Linked DNA regions of Homo sapiens: region 1 is linked to region 2. The links are contacts of gene promoters, found by promoter capture Hi-C in blood cells and fetal thymus (Javierre and others, 2016). All regions are on one chromosome and are shown on one strand. Each heading gives the region's core, a stretch centred on a gene start or on the middle of the fragment in contact. The rest is flanking DNA. Distances are from core to core; before and after follow the strand shown.

Evidence for each region. The method cuts DNA at HindIII sites, captures the fragments that hold promoters and counts their contacts. A CHiCAGO score of 5 or more calls a contact.
Region 1: a fragment that was not itself captured here is called in contact with the fragment with the promoter of SVIP in region 2 in 1 of 17 cell types (total B cells); the score reaches 5.3 in total B cells.

The regions. Positions count from the first base shown.
Region 1 is chr11:27,364,775-27,370,175 of GRCh38, forward strand. It overlaps LGR4 (leucine rich repeat containing G protein-coupled receptor 4), which reads right to left. Exons shown (of 18, transcript NM_018490.5): 18 at 1,187-4,369. The coding sequence ends at 3,093. Among named protein-coding and RNA genes, the nearest start is that of CCDC34, 4.3 kb to the left of the region's middle. The HindIII fragment of the contact is 2,091 bases long and covers 1,925-4,015 here.
Region 2 is chr11:22,827,962-22,833,135 of GRCh38, forward strand. It overlaps SVIP (small VCP interacting protein), which reads right to left and starts at 1,840. Exons shown (of 4, transcript NM_148893.3): 1 at 1,734-1,840. The coding sequence starts at 1,787. It overlaps LINC02718 (long intergenic non-protein coding RNA 2718), which reads left to right and starts at 1,453. Exons shown (of 11, transcript NR_187210.1): 1 at 1,453-1,650. RefSeq lists an enhancer at 1,435-1,744 and a silencer at 1,895-1,964. The HindIII fragment of the contact is 1,537 bases long and covers 621-2,157 here.

The DNA of each region.
Region 1 (5,401 bases), core at 1,720-4,219, 4.5 Mb after region 2:
TGTCATATACTTCTTTGTCCCCTTAAAATGTTTTCCTAAACAAAGTATACCCTTTTCTTGATGCGCCAGGGTCATCATTATGACCAACTGTGACATTATGCACTAGCAATGCTGGACCCCCCCAAGGGTATGAGGCAGAGTCAGATGGTGCTGGTGCTGGTGTTTGAACATAATTAAGTCCAGCGGCCTCATTTCTTACAGTGCCTTTTCATTACTGGAGCTGAGAAGCCATAATCGAGATGGGTAGAATTATATATAAATGTACAAATGTATAAAAGAGTGTCTCTCCCTTTAAGTTTTAGGGTATTGACTTAGTGACATCTTTTCATACAATTAGTACTTTGGCCATGGTATATTTGAGGTAATTATGTTTTGCTGGCTCTGGAAACTTATATAAGAGTCACTTTTGCTTAAATAATTCCATCACCAGTTAGCCCTGTGGCATATATTATGCAACTTTAAAAATTTATCCCTAGACATTAGTATTTACAGATGAAACAATATAATGTCTTAAATTTGCTTCAAAATAATGCAAGGGGCAGAGGGATTGGAGGGGATTAGTGAATAGGATGAAGATGAAACAAGGTTCACTACATGCTGCAGATAATTGTCAAAGCAGTGACAGGTATGGGGTGAAGGGTAGGGAGGTGGGGTAATTATACTACTCTACTTTTTGTTATGGAAATTTCAAGCATATATGAAATTTAAAACAAACACACACACAAAATTATGTCCCAAATGAAGAGGCATTGGGTTCTGGTTTGGGGTCAAATTTGCTGTGACTCAGGGATTCACTTAAATTTCATTAAGCCTTTTGTTTTCTCATCTGTAAAATGAGGACTTAATGATTGTAAATACTGAAGTATTTCTAAGCATCTGGGCAACTGACTACATTTAATATCATGCAGATTTTTTAATCATTTGCTTTTTAGATAAAGATTGAATCAATGGTTTTTCTGAAATTTCATAATCTGTTTTCCATGAGTATAGTTCAGACTTAGGATAAAACCTTATTTCTAAGTTTCAGCAAAATGTTCTTATATGTTTACAAATAAATATCAAAATAGTGTTTTCTAATGGTTACTTCCAACATTTCTTCTAATACTGTCCACTTACAAATATTTAATTTGCTTACTTTAAAACTAAATTCATTAATATACCTAGTTTTAAATTAAGGCAAAATAGATTGCTTTCTAGAAACTTTAATAATTCAAAACACTGAGTACAATATTGTATTTCATACCATATAGCACAAAGATTAACACTTTTATATATCTGTTATTCTAGTTTTTAAATGAATAAAATGAAAAGTTTTCAATAACCTGAATTTTGGAAAAAACCTTTTAATTAGGAGTTTCTTACCAAGTTATGATTTAATATTTATCAGATGTGTAAATATACATGATAGCAATTTTTAAAACTTGTAAATAGTTGGCCTTACAAAATTACAACACACTGTAAATAAATCCTTCCCACATTTTATACAAACTACATGATTTTGATATACAAAGATTCTGTTTTTATTACACTGACAATGTACAACAAAGACTATTTACAATGCAAAAAGTATATAAACCACAATTTAACAGTCTGCTACTGGCAGCCACTATAGTTTAGGAGGTAGCTTTAATTAAACGAAATGAACAGAAGCCACATTTCCCAACTTGTGTTCTAAAAATAATTTACATAAGATAAAAATTCATTATATGCACAGTATGTACAGTTTAATTATTAAACTGCAATCTAGCTGGATTTTTTTAGTATATTCAGAATAACTAATATGGCAGTGGGTTTGCTATTGATTTAGCACACTGTTCAAAAAACATATTGAACAATTATAACTTTAAGACTCCACCCAGTAATAGGTCTAAAGCCCATAGATGGGAATCAAGTAAAATTTTTAATTTTTAAAGACACAGGACTAAGCTTTATTCTTTCTTCTTCTATTTTTATTAATAACATATTATCTTGTTTAACCAGAGTTCAACCTCTGAGCTATTGAATAGGCTCTTTTATAAAAAATAGTATGGGGAAGATGTATGGAAATTTCCATTTAATAGCACAGGTTCAAGATAATCCAGCTCACTAAGAAATAAACATAAGTACTTCGTGTCATAATTACTCCCCGTTTCGTCTAATTAAATGCAAGTATTGACCACAGTTTACTTTCTATATAATCCAAGCTATTGCTAGGTGACATCCCAGCAAATTGGAAAATATTAGTAGAGCCAACGATATTAGGAAGTATTCATTAATGAGAACATTACATGAAGCCACCAAATCCCTCAGATACTATTAAACCCCCACATTAGTTAGTAGTTTAGCCAAATCGACTAAACCCACACAGCAATTAGCCTTTTACTTTTTTTCTAGTAGTGTAATCACAAAACACTTAAGAAAAAATTACTGATTGGACCAAAGCAATGTATAATGACTGAAAACAAATGTCCAGCTATTTTTTTAACCTAACAGCTGTTAATATTGTTTTAAAAACATCTTCAGGTTTTAGATTTATAAATTGCTTAAACAAAATTTATAGTTCTCTTATGTCAAGGATGGCAAGTGAAAACATAATAAAGTAATGCCTATGTATACTCTCACAGTTCTAGCTGGGACAGTCCCTTTTTTGGCCCTGCAGTAAGTTGTCCTGAGATTAAGGATGAAACATTAGGTAAAATTAGCAAGATATTTTCTTCAGTTATAGAAAATCACATTTTAAAATAGATTTTTAAAAAATATTAACAGCTGTTCTTTATCTTGTGCTTAATACACAAATAGGTATAAATTTGCTTCTTATGGATCAGAAAAAACTAACATTATATTGCTCTACTACACCTAAGATCCTTTTCAAGTCATATATTTGTTTCAAACAGATCATACATTGCTTGGACATTGCATTTTTCACCAATTTATAATTTAGGCACCTGTTCTTTGAAAATGACTGGTTTGAGAAATAAACTGCCACCTCTCCTTCTTCTAAGTGACACCAGGCAGTGATTACAGAAGTGCTTCCCAGATGAAAGATGAGAATAGGGTTCACTCTATAAACACTGATTTTGGTTGACGGGGGAAACGGTTACACACACAGTAGTTCAGTCTTTAACTCTTGGTAGATTGTAAGCATAGCGCACCAAAGGGAATCCTCTACTCTGGTAGAAGCAGGCTCGTCCACAGGCCTGCACCTGGTCAGAACTGTCTGAGACAAAGGAATCTTCTTCATCTGCATAATCAGAGTGGGCCGACTGTGTGCCACAGTCGGACCAGTAGCCCTCAGGTCTTTGGCAAGAAGCCACTGCCAATGCAGGACAGCTGTGTGATTTTATCAAGTGTTTGCATGATACTGGCTTTGTTAAAAGAAACGATTCGCAGCAGTCGCAAACAGTCAGGTTGCCCTGCAAATGTGAGTACATGCCACAGTCGTAGTAGAAATCCTGTTCCAGACAACCACCTTGGCTACTGATGGAAACTGAAACTGATCCACTTTTCTTGGTAACACGTCGCTTCAGTAACTTCCAGTCTTCTTTAAACTTTGGGTTGAAGAAAACATACAGGACTGGATTCAGGCAAGCAGGCAATGGAAAAAATATCAGAGTAACAGACTTCATTATTTCGGGGCTGATAGAGATTGCAGTGATCAATGGTGCAAATGAAAAAAACGCCACAGGGCAGAAAAAGATGCAATTGGTGAAGATTAGCCAAGCGACATGCTTAATCATGCTAGATTGTGAGTTTTCTGAGAGGTCCTCTTTTTCCAAGTTGCAGTATAGTTTAGTGTAGATAACGGCCATTAATAAAAATGCTAGTGAGTTTAATAGCACTAACGTTACAGTGAATCCTAATGATGGCGTTTCACCTGTAGGAAATGGCAAACAAAGGGGTGATGCAGAATATTCCCCTCTATGGAAAAGGGGAAAACAGCCTGCTACTGTAGCACCTAGGAAAGCCAAAAGGGCAGCAACCCGGAACTGTTTGAGATGATTGCTCTTCCCATTTTTCATTATATCTTTTGCAGATAAGCTTCTTTCGACAGTTGCTAGCATTAATAAAAATATGGCACTTTCTGAGGAGAAAACTGCAAGAAACCCAGCTACTTTGCAGCCACTGCCAGTTTCCCACCAAATGCCAAATTCAGCGAATCTGCCCCAGGACACAGCATCAAGAAAAGTTAGGATGCCAGTATAGATTCCCATGAATAAGTTAGACACAGAAATCAAGCCTATAAACAATTTGGACGAAGGCAGTGATGTACAAGATGCAAATGTTGTTAAAATAACAAGCAGGTTGAAAAATAATGCAACCAAGAAAATGAACCACACAGTAAGACGAATCATCCAGCTTCCCAGTAAATATTCACAGGGCTTAAAAGCACCTAAAAAAAACACACACAGAGAGAGAGAAATAAAAGATAACTTAGAAAACAATTTAGAAAATGATATGGCTTGATAGAAAAACTAATGATATAGACTAATTAAATCTGCTCTCTACTTGAACAAAACTGAACTGATTACTAGTTCTAAGATATTTTGGTCATGGACCAGGCTATTTTAAAAATAAACTGACTTTAATTTATTTTATTAAATATTTGGTAAGGCTATAAATATTTCTTTTATTAAATATTTGATAAAGAGTGATATTTAGATGAAATTTTTCATTTTTTCTTGCATCTAAGCTAATTTACATAGCACAATATCTAGGGCATAAGAGGTATTTGATGACTGAGGGTCTGGAATGAGATGGTTCATAACTTGCTATTCTTACCTTAAGAAAGCAACTTAAAATTGTATAAATTTTAACCTGTATTCATTTTCTCACTTGTGGATAATAATGCCTGTTTCATACAGTTGTGCAGCTTAAGTAAAATTATACACATAAGGAACTAAGCAGGATGCTGGATATATAGTTAGACTTCAATAAATATTAGCTCCCTTTTCTTCTTCCTTTCTAGCCCCAATATACTTTATAATCATGTATGTATATGTATGTATCTACACATATTTTTTATATATTTTCTTATGACTTTCAAAAGCAACCTGATGAAGCAGGTTAAGACAGTATAATTATCCCCATTTTTCATCCAGAGAAACTGATATTTCAAAGAAACTGACAAAGGCCATTCAGTAAGATAATATAGCTAGGACTACACCTCGGTGATGTTAACTATTCATACAAAGCTATGTACAATAAAATCCTACATAATACAAACTAGCATTGCAAGAACTCATTCAGTCGCTGAACTCCATGTTCCAGTAACTGACTTTGACATGCTAGTTATGACACAAATTACAACTGTTTTACTGAAAAATTAGAAAAGAAAAACAAGATTTTGACTATGAAACACAAGAAAACTATGTATTACAACTGTCTAAAAAACATGTTTTATGAACTTTCATGAAAATGACAT
Region 2 (5,174 bases), core at 590-3,089:
TTTACAAAAATATTCGGTACTGGCCCTAAATGTCCCACAAAGAATGCCACTACTCAACTTTTTGAATTTCATTCTCCTAATCAATATGCCTTCAAATCAGCACATGCTAAAACAGATACAAGGTTTACCTATATAATCATTTATTTACTCTCTTTTTTAATAAAAAGGCCTACAAGCTAGTCAGGGCAATAACAAAACAAATAATGTTTACAAATACAAAAAGGAAAATACATGGTTTGTTACTGCCGGTTAAAATGGAGTCTGAAGTAACCTGGTGTTTTTAGGAAAGGTTAATAAATGAAGTGGGCTAATCTCAGTGTGTAGGAGGGAAGGACTGGAGTAATTTCATGAGAGGTATTGTTCCATATCAGAAAACAGTGAATGCTATTTTTCTAGACCATGTACTACTTATTATAAAGCCCTTTTTCTAGGTGCTGGGATACAACAGTGTAAAAACATAGATAAATGTCTCCTCCCAAATGAAACAAATTCCAATTGCGGGCGCACAGACAAATATAATGAAGTAAGTAAACGTCTGTCAGATGGCATGGCAGATAAGTAATGGGAGAATGGGTGGGTGGTATTGTGGGGAATATATTTTGTTTAACGTGGTCAGCAAAAGCTTCACTGGTAAAGTGACATCCAAGCAGTGAGCCGTGTGGTTATCAAGGGAAGAGGGTATAGTATGAGGATGGGGGGGAGGGCTTAACAAATCTGACATGTTATATTTTATCGACAGCCAGAACAACAAAATCAACTTAATTTAAAACAACAGCAGCAACAAAGAGAAGCTGAACTTTCCCACATCAAATTTATAAGTACTAAATTTTTAGTATCTATAGTAGCTGAAGAGTTAATGTACTTCCCAAAAATACTTCATTTTCTTCAACTAATTTTTAGCTAGAGAAGAGAAACAGGTTTATGTTAACTCCCTGTAAGGAGTACTAATGTAAAGATACTGTTAACAGAAAGCTACAAAAAGTGTACATGTATTGTACCACACACCCACTAGCTACATTTGAATTTCAGATAAGCAATGAGTAATGTTTTTGTAGAACTAGATCCCTAATATTGCATGGCACAAAACGATATTATAAACGTATTCCTTGTATATCTGAAATTCGAATGTAACTGGGTGTCCAGTATTTTTATTAAATACGACATTATAAATTGGACACTCTGTACTACATATTCTTTTAAAGGGAGAACGTAAAAGAATGAGATAAATACTAAAAAGAAATCATTAAAAAAACATATCCGATAAAGCTCAGGCGTATAAGCGACTTTCCGAGCACCTTCTTTTAAAAGATGGTAGACACAGTTGAAAACGCACATCTCCTAGACGACTAAAGAGCTCCCGGAGAAAGCAATGTCTTTTCGCGCCGAATTCCATCTACCACATCCCCCGGAATGTCCCACGCGTAACGCCCTCTGCGTGCGCCGGCGCCCTATGAAGATCCGGCGCAGCTAAAGTCAGTGGAAGGTAGAAAGACGCCACAGCCGCCTTTCGACAACTTTTTGTTACAAAAGTGGAGATCTACACGGAGGCGACGGCCTAGGTCGCTCTGACAGGACCCAACGACCCTCCTGACGCGTCCACCCGTCCTCGCTAGCAGGGTCCCCCAGCGGGCTCTCGACCTGCGCCACCAGGTACAATGGCTCGGCCCGCCCCGCAACCCGAGGACAGGTGCTCAAGGCGCGGCCCGGCGGACGCAGGGACCTGCTCTACTCACCAGGTCCGGCGTGGGAGGCGCGGACTCCCCGGGACAAGGAAAACACAGCCCCATAGGGACGACAGCTTGAGAACCCTGACCGGGTCCGGCCCAGGCCAGGCGGCGCTAACTGCGCGGTCCGGAGCCGGTCCCTGGTCCTCCGCGCTTGCCCCGCCCCCACCGCCCTCCACTGGCTCGGCTCCGCCCCAGCGGCAACGCCCCGCCCCCACCCCGCAGCTCTGCCCCGCCTCGCCTCTCTGCGGCAACGCCCCCCTCTTCTCGCGACACCAACCAGTCCCACAGCTCAGCTGCGCCCCCTTAAGGCATTGCCCCTTCCTCACCCACAGCTCCGCCTACCCCCGCCCCGCGACCGCTGGGCTTGTGGCCAAAGCCTAGGTTCCAGGAAACACCTGCTGTGGGTAGCAATGCAGGGAAGGGATGGAAAAGCTTCGCTACGGTTCCAAAGCTCTTCCTGCTAACCTTGCCTTACCATTTATAAATGAATGAGTGGTACAGCTCTGGGTAGTTCATGCTACCTTTTTTTATGAGATGGGACTCTGGTGTCCTAGAAATTAAAGCCAAAATTCCAAGTAAACATCAGCACCCTTTTCTCCCTTCTTAGTGACAGTGCTATTCCAGAACAGAGGGCAGAATATAAAATCCATTATTATGACGATGAATCTAGCGTCATAAATGTGGCATTAGTTGACATTTCCACTAGTTTCTGGTATTTAGAAGTCATTTATCCTTCCGAGAGAAATAATAAAGTTTCATCTACTGAGAAATGTTTTAATGATTCTCCTCAAATTTTAATAAGTATGAGAATCAGCTGGGCAACTAGTTAAAATTTACTTGCTGATTTAGTAAGTATAAGGTGGGACCTGAGATTCATTTCCAGTAAACCCACAGGTGATACTAAAGTTACTGATCTCGTCTCCACACAAATGCTTTTATTTTATTTTATTTTATTTTTGCATTCTATTAGTTATTTCTGCTTATGTAAAAATTTTCAAACATTACAAAAAGGTAGGATGTATAGTGACAGCGTCTCAGAAACCATTGTCGGCTTTTTGATATACTTGCTGGTTAATTTTTTATAGATGTATAATTTACATATAATATTATGCACTTATTTTGATTGTAGAGTTCACTGAGTTTTAACAAACATGTGATCACCACATTCAAGATATGTAAGTTTTCCATCACCCAAAAACCTTCTATTGTACCCAATCCCATTCAATACTTTATCCTATACCTAGATCCAGGAAACTATTAATTTGTTTAATATCACTTTAGTCTTTAAGTTTTGCATAAATGTTAATATCACTATAGTCTTTAAGTTTTACATAAATGAAATATACAATATGTTTTGCAAAAGCCATAATATTTTCTAAATTCTTCCATGTTATTGAATGAAACAGTAGTTTATTCCTTAAATAATAGGGGATGATGCTTTTTTAATACTATTATTCGATTGCATGGGCCGTTTCTAAGGGTAAATAAAAATATATAAAGAAAAAGTGAAGGTTCTCTGTTGCAAAAAGAGAAAGATAACTACCCACCTCCTCTTTAGCATTGTGTTTAGAAAACGTGAAATTGTAAGCGCTATCTCTGTCTCACTGAAATGTATGAAAAAAAAAAAAAGGCCAGGCATGGTGGCTTACTCCTGTACTTTTGGAGGCCAAGGTGGGTGGATCACCTGAGGTCAGGAGTTTAAGACCAGCCTGACCAACGTGGGGAAACCCTTTCTCTATTAAAAATACAAAACTTCGCCAGGCATGGTGGTGGGCGCCTGTAATCCCAGCTACTCCGGAGGCTGAGCAGGGAGAATCGTTTGAACCCGGGAGGCGGAGGTTGCAGTGAGCCGAGCTCGCGCCACTGCACTCCAGCCTGCACAACAGAGAGAGATTGCGTCGAAAGAAAAGAAAGAGAGGAGGGGAGGGGAGGGGAGGGGAGGGCAGGGGAGGCTAAATAAGCCTCTTGCCAGTTTTGCATCAGAAAGAAAGAACCTAAATAAGCCTCTTGCCAGTTTTGTATCCTCAGAATATCTTTGGAGGCCTATTGGCTTTCTCTTAGAAATGAAAACATCCCAGAGTGGCACCTGTCTCCCCGTCTTCATGGTAGTTTACTGTCTAGGCACTTGGCTTCAAGATGGAGCTTTCTGCTTGTCAAGAGATACAAGTGTTATTCTTTCCTTTAGATTTCTTTTAGATAAAAACAATTAACATGTGTGTAGTGGACTGTATCTGACAGGCTATATAAAAATGGTGAAGAATGTTTTCATTGCAAACTCTTTAGTAGATTGCTTCTGATAGAAATCACAATCGATTTAATGCTTATTCAATGATAAAACTGTTTCTTTTCTGCATTTGTGGAGAGTTTCCTGCATTGGCAGATTTTGTTTTTAATTATTATCAAAACACTTTCCATGACATAATTATTTCCCCAACACTTTCCATGGTTTATTGATTTTTATTTTTAATAAACATTATTGAGATATAAAATACAATTAACACATCTACTTTAGGTGTACAGTAGTGCCTTCCATTCCTGGTTTTGATAAAGTTTCAGTTTATTTATTCAACATTAATATCACTATAATCTGTAAGTTTTACATAAATGAAATATACAATATATGTTTTGCACATGTATTGTCAACTGCATGGTCAACTGAGGTCCAAAAATATTAAATGGAAAATTCCAGAAATAATTTGTAAATTATAAATTGCTTGCCTTCTAAGTATCTGATCAAATCTTAGGCTGTCCTAATCCATCACACACAGGATGTGAATGATGTGAATCATCCCTTTGTACAGCGTATCCACAGTGTCTAAGCCACCCCGCCCATTAGTCACTTAGTAGCTATCTCAGTTGTCACATTAACTGTTGGTATTACAGTGCTGGTGTTCAAATAACCCTTATTTTACATATTAATGACCCAAAGTGCAAAATTAGTGATAATGGCATATTGTTATAATTGTTTTATTATTAGTTGTTAATCTGTTACTGCACCTAATTTATAAATTAAACTTTATCATGGGTATTACGTATAGAAAAAAACAGTGCAGATACAGTCACTGACCAAGATGGCCTAATGTTTCCTGCTGCCTGACTAACCTTTAGACAGGGTTCTTCCTGATTGTTGGCCTCTGACCTCCCTATTTTTAGACCATTCACTTTAAAAAAAACTTGCAAAGTGTACATTTTCTCTGCTCCTTTAAGATGTAAATCTTCTGGCCTCTTATCAGTTCTACAATGCAGAACCATCTTTCTCAAAAACCTGGGTGTCATCTCTTTGAAATTCAATAATTAAGAAAGGTAGAACCTTTTTTTATCTCCTAATCTCTGTGGGAGAGTAGGAGCCTGACTTCCCTAAGCACCAATCAGCAAACACAGATGGTCTAACCCTATTGACCAACATACAGTACTTTTCCACTTAGGGACTTCTGTGCTTAAAATCTC